Linked DNA regions of Homo sapiens: region 1 is linked to region 2. Evidence: promoter capture Hi-C in 16 types of primary human blood cells and fetal thymus (Javierre and others, 2016). All regions are on one chromosome and are shown on one strand. The core of a region is centred on a gene start or on the middle of the fragment in contact, and the rest is flanking DNA. Distances in the headings are between cores, read along the strand shown.

Region 1 (2,981 bases), core at 188-2,687, 1.5 Mb before region 2:
GAGCCACCATGCTCAGCCTGTTCTCTGTCTCTTGTATCTCCCCATGACCTTCAGTGTTCAGACACTGGGTCACCTCTCATTTCCTAAATGTCTGTTCTCTTTCTTGCCTCTCCAAGTTCAGCTGCAGAGCAGCTGCATTCCTCAGTAGGCAGTGGGAGAGACTCTGTCTTTCTCCTGCGCTGCAGCCCGTCTCATCACAGGCTTCAGGTGGTCCCTTTGGGCTCCCACAGCAGTCAAGCTTCCTGCGCATGATTAAAGGGATGCTGGTGCTTCTGAAATAAAGCACCAGGGGCAGAGGCTGATGGCTCAAGCCCAATCCCCAGGTCTCCCAGAGCTGGCTTCCCTGGTAGGCAATCACAGACTTTGCAGGGAGGAGCCATCTCCTTTGTTCTTATGTGTTGCTTCTTTCTTGCTACCCAGGCTCATGTTAATTGCTTTTCTGACATTTTTTCTGGCAAGTGATTTTTGCTGCTGCTTGTGGAGGTGACATGGCAAGCCCACAAGGGAGCGATAACAATGACCTAATGCAGAGCCGAGGAGGCTGGGGCTCCTATACGGGGTAGAAGATAATGAAGTTGAGTCATGAACAATTTGTTCTAAATGGTCAGTGAGATAGGCTCAGAGCCTTCAGAAATGAGAGTAGCCTGTGGCCAAGGCTTTCCTGAGAAGTTGTTCCCTCGGCCTTTGTAGTTCTGGCAGACCACCCTTCCTGGTGCAGGGACCTCAGGATGTGGGAACCTGTGCACAGGGCTAGATGATTCCTAAGGTCTTCCAAGAGCTTGTGAATGTCGGCAGCACAGAGACTAGAACTATGATGATCCTATCTTCCCAGCTACCTGTCAGAACACGTAGTCTGGTAATCCAGCAACTCCATTAGCCCAGATATTTATTCCACTTACTCTGTGCCAGGCATGGTGTTAGCTGGAGACATGACAGTAAATGGGTCACAGTTCCTACCTCAGTTCAGCTCACAGCCCGGATGGGAGACAGACCCACACTTAGATAATTATAATGCAGCAGGGCGAGTACCAGGATCCAGTGATGTATGGGGGTTATTCTGAGCACAGAGGAGAGGTCTCAGGGGCCAGGACAGGCTTCCTGGAGGCAGCACCAACACTACTGAGTCTTGAATAAGCAGAAGTTATAGCTGGGCCAGGCCAAGGGGAGTATAGGGGTGAGGAGGGAAGAGCTGATTTCTTCTCCTGCCTGAACCACCTGTTTAAAAGCAACATGGGGAAACAAAGCCATATGAAGAGGGGAAGTTGACAAGCACAAGTCCCTTGACTCTACAGAACAAATTTTAATCTCCCTTTCTTTGTACGAGGGTCTCCAACTCAGTGTCCAGCCACCCAAGCTCTAGCCTGTGGGGACCCTTCATAACTCCTCCCAGGGGGTCAAGGCAACCCAGCATTTCCTGGGGGATGCAGATGAGTGTGGCCTAATAATTCTTGCTCCAATCAGCGACTGTCTAAAATGTGGGCAACCTGAGCACCCAGTGCCATCCAGAGCTCAGGGTAGGTGCTCATCATGTCCTTGATTGCAGCTGCATGTGTGTTTGCCTCTTACCTGTCATGATGATCAACAGGAGCTCGGCAGTTGTAATCAGCAACGAGAGTTACACATGTCATTAGGTTTACAGAGTAACATGGGCCAGGCCAGAAGATATGTCTGCAAGAGGTCTCCTTGGTATGGCCAGCTATGGCCAGAGGAATAATAAAGGCAAGGCCTTCCCAGGTGGGCACCTCTGCTATTTTCTACTGGAGGCAGGGGCTGAGTCCTCGAGTGGGGAAATGCCGATGTGGCCAGTTTCTCTAAGGACTCTGGGGCTCTGTTGGCCCCTTGGCTACATTTCTTGACTTTGCCATTGTTATTATTAGCTTTTCTAGGTGGATAATGGGATAATGGGAGGCAATGTGGTTAACATTTTTTTTAAAAAAAATAAATGTTGGCCGGGTGCGGTAGCTCATGCCTGTAATCCCAGCACTTTGGGAGGCCAAGGCCAGTGGATTACCTGAGGTCAGGAGTTTGAGACTAGCCTGGCCAGCATGATGAAACCCTGTATCTACTAAAAATACAAAAATTAGCCAATGTAGTGGCTCATGCCTGTAGTCCCAGCCACTTGGGAGGCTGAGGCAGGAGAATCGCTTGAACCCAGGAGGTGGAGGTTGCAGTGAGCCGAGGTTGTGCCACTGCACTTCAGCCTGGGTGACAAGGGTGAAACTCCGTCTTAAAAAAAAATGTATTGTGTGTATCGAAGGTATCCAACATGATGTTAATGTGATTTTATGAAAAGCAGCCTTTGCAGTCAAGTAGACATGAACTTGAATCTTAGCTCTGCCACTTCAGCTGTGCAGCTTTGAACACTTAACTTCTTTCAATGTGAGTTTCTCATCTATTAAATGGGGTTAATCATGTCTATTTGTATCTATTTCCAAAGAGTGTTGTGAAGATCCAAGGGGATAGCACGTGTAAAGCACATTCTTCTTACCTTTTATCTCCCTGAGCTGAGTGTAGAGGCTGCAGTCATTCATTGAACAATTGTTTATTGTCTACTTATTGCTAACCATTGTTGCGGGTTCTGCGGAAACAGTAATGAACAAAAGTCTCTGTTCTCATCAAGTTCACATTCTGGTGGGGAAGCTTGAAAATAAGTAAGTAAACTAAGCAGGATAACTTCAGATAGTGATAAAAGCTATACAGAAAAGGAAACAGGCCCATAGGATAGAAGTGATTTGGTGGGAGGCCTGAAGAGGCTTTAGGGAGCACAGTGGTCTTTGAACCAAGACCTGGAGGCCAAGAAGGAGCTGGGCCTGCGGAGACCTGAGGAAGAGCATTCCAGGCAGAGAGAAGAGCAAGGGCACAAAGTGCTGAGGTGGGAAAGCATTTGGCAAGAAAGAAGATGCTTGCAGGAGGAGCACTGTGAACCCTGGGGAGTGTGGGATGAGGAGAGGAGCAGGAGTGAGTTCCATGCATGTTCCCAA
Region 2 (2,974 bases), core at 171-2,670:
CTTGCCATGCTAGAGTAACTTAAAAACCTGTCCTCTTTCCATCACATTAAACAGTGGTGAAAAATCCGAAAGCCATATTAAAGAAGAGATGTCAGGGATATGACTACTTAAAATTCAGGAAACTACTTTTGTAAAATCAAGAGCTGTTAGGAAGGGTTATACCTGTGCCCTTATGGTGTGTGGCAAACTTGCTCCCTCGAAACCCTACTTGACTCAGATACACAAAATTTTAAATGAAAGCAACTGAAGATGTGGACAAATACTGGCAAGGTAACAATATCAGTACAAAGCAAAACTGTGTGTGGCTACGTGCTTCCAGTTTTTGTATCAATCTCAAGGCAGCAACGTTTACGTAGGTACCAATGACACTCAGCACAGCTTCATGTGCTTGTAGATGAAGTTTTAAAACCACATTAAGAGGCCGGAGACGGTGGCTTACACCTGTAATCCCAGCACTTTGGGAGGCCGAGGCGGGTGGATCACCTGAGGTCAAGAGTTCGAGACCAGTCTGGCCAACATGGTGAAACTCCGTCTGTACTAAAAATACAAAAAAAAAAAAAAAAAAATTAGCCAGGCGTGGTGGCACGCGCCTGTAATCTCAGCTACTCGGGAGGCTGAGGCAGGAGAATCGCTTGAACCCGGGAGGCAGAGGTCGCGGTGAGCCGAGATCACTCCAGCCTGGGCGACAGAGCAAGACTCCATCTCAAAAGATAGATAGATACATAAAAATAAAAACATACTGAGGGTTTGGGTTTGTTTTTTTTTTAATGTCGGGGAGGAGAAAGGTGCAATCCTCCAGGCTATTTTATTCATCAACAAATCAAGGAGTGGGTGGAGGAAATAAACACTCATCGATGGAAGAAGGGGAAGGGGGATCCTGTCTTTTCTATTCCTCTCCTGCGCTCGCTCCCTAGCTTCCTCGGAGCTTCCAGTTGCTCCTCCCGCTCTGCTGGTCTCTTCAGTCTCCCTCTTCCCGCGGCACACCCCTCCCCAACATAACTCCACTCTCCAGTGCTCTCCAGCCACCGCCTGTTCGTCCCCACAGTCCCAGGTCTCCTCGCCTCCTCAGTTCCCAACCCCTGTGTGGGCTCCCCTCCAAGATCCCTCCTCAATCCACACATTCTGGGCCCCTCCACTCCTCATTCAGCCCCCACAACTAGATCTCCCCAACAGGCCCCACTCTGCTGGTCCCCACTCTGTCTGCCCTTAGCCCCTGACTCCTCTCTCCAGTCCCTTCACACAAGGACCCGGAGTCCCCTTCCAGTCAGCAGACAGCTGCCCCGCTCTCACCTTGATCTCCTCCACCCGCCGGGTCAGGCGGCTGATCCGGGTCCCCAGATCCTCCTTTTCCAGCCTCCCGGAGTGTGCCAAAACTTCTGTCACGAACGAGGCCATGGCCAAGACGGGAACCAACGCTGACTGGGTCACTCTCGTAGCCAGCGCCGCAGCTCCCGTCCCGCCGGCCGTCTTGACGCGAGGCCTGCCGGGAAACGGAGTCTCGCGGGCCTCAGACCGCCGCCCGGAAGGCGAGGGGCGCACTACAACTCCCAGCAGGCACCGCGCCAATCCCGAGATGGGATTTCCACGGTGTCCCGTAGTTGGCAAACTGTAAGCAGACGCGTTTTCTTCCTTAGTTGTTTTCAAAGTTCGTTGCTTCCCGCCCGTTTTTCACTGGAGGAAATTAAACGTTTTTAATAACCAGGTCTAACTGAACCTTTCTAAACTTCAAAAGGCTTACTTGTAAAATTATCTAACTGAAAGAGCCAACGAGCCCATCTCGATCTTTTTTCCTCAACTTTTATTGGGCCGCTGTGGCACCAGAATCTACGAATGGCGCCCTCTAGAGTTGTGTAAAGAAGTGGCGTCACCTCATTATAAATAAAAGGTTGCTTATAATTGCATCTATGTACATATATTACATCTACGTGATACATTACACATTTACATTACCTACATTACATATTTATATTACTTAGATATACATAATATTAGTCCTGTGTGAACAAGATACTTAGTACTTTCTGTCATATTATAAATATATAAATGTGTCAAAAGCTTTTAAAAATGGTTTCATTATTTTAATGCATTGCATACAGAAAGATGTTCACAATATTCTATGTATACTATGATTCCTTTTTAAAAACTTAAGTGTATAACCATTGGTCAGAAAACAAAAAGTATGTAAGTATGTATGTAAAGGACAGACATCAAATTATCCTATGGGTGGTGGATTTATGGTATTTATTCTCTTCTCTGCCCTTGCTTTCTCTATTTTTCTGCAGTAAACATACACAGTCCTCCCTTGGTATGGGGGGATTGGTTCCAGAAACCTCCCCTGCCCCAGTAGCAAAATCCGTGGATGCTCAAGTCTCTTACATAAAATGATGTAATGTTTACAAGTAACCAGCACACATCCTCCCCATACACTTTAAATCATCTCTTGATTACTTATAAGACCTAATACAAATCAATCTAAATGCTATAGAGTCGTTATATTGTATTTTGATTTGCATTATTTTTTGTTGTTGTATTGTTATTTTTTATTAGTTTTTTCCAGAATATTTTTGATCTGTGGTTGGTTGGATCCGTGGATACCAAGAGCCAGATGTACTGTTTTGATTAAAAGGTTTTTGGTTTTTTAAAAAGATATATTGTGAGGGTTGACCCCAAGTAGGCACTGACTCTAAGATCCCTGACAATTGTTAAGTGTCTTTGAGACAATCTGCTTATCCCAGTGAAGCAAGGGCCAATTCACATGCCATGAGCAAAGGAAACAAAACTGGGATTGAGAGAGGAAGCACTGAAAACAGCCAAAACATCCTGAGAAACTCCCTTCCTTGGAAAACCAAATCAATTTCTTTTTGGTAGACCTGTCAACTTTGAATTCTAACTGCAACTAATAATAAATGCCCAATGACAAAGAATGACTGATAGATGAAAATTCTGAAACTTTGTACTGCATATTTATTAAGCA

The links. Contacts are between HindIII fragments. The CHiCAGO score rates a contact against its expected background, and 5 or more counts as called.
Region 1: a contact is called between a fragment that was not itself captured here and the fragment with the promoter of ZW10 in region 2, in 1 of 17 cell types (naive CD8 T cells). The highest score is 5.7, in naive CD8 T cells.

What each region holds. Positions count from the first base shown.
Region 1 is chr11:112,285,671-112,288,651 of GRCh38, forward strand. The region is part of intron 1 of LINC02762 (long intergenic non-protein coding RNA 2762); the gene reads left to right. Among named protein-coding and RNA genes, the nearest start is that of LINC02762, 16 kb to the left of the region's middle. The HindIII fragment of the contact is 2,402 bases long and covers 237-2,638 here.
Region 2 is chr11:113,772,272-113,775,245 of GRCh38, forward strand. It overlaps ZW10 (zw10 kinetochore protein), which reads right to left and starts at 1,421. Exons shown (of 16, transcript NM_004724.4): 1 at 1,291-1,421. The coding sequence starts at 1,395. RefSeq lists enhancers at 1,152-1,421, 1,552-1,611. The HindIII fragment of the contact is 9,750 bases long and covers 1-2,053 here.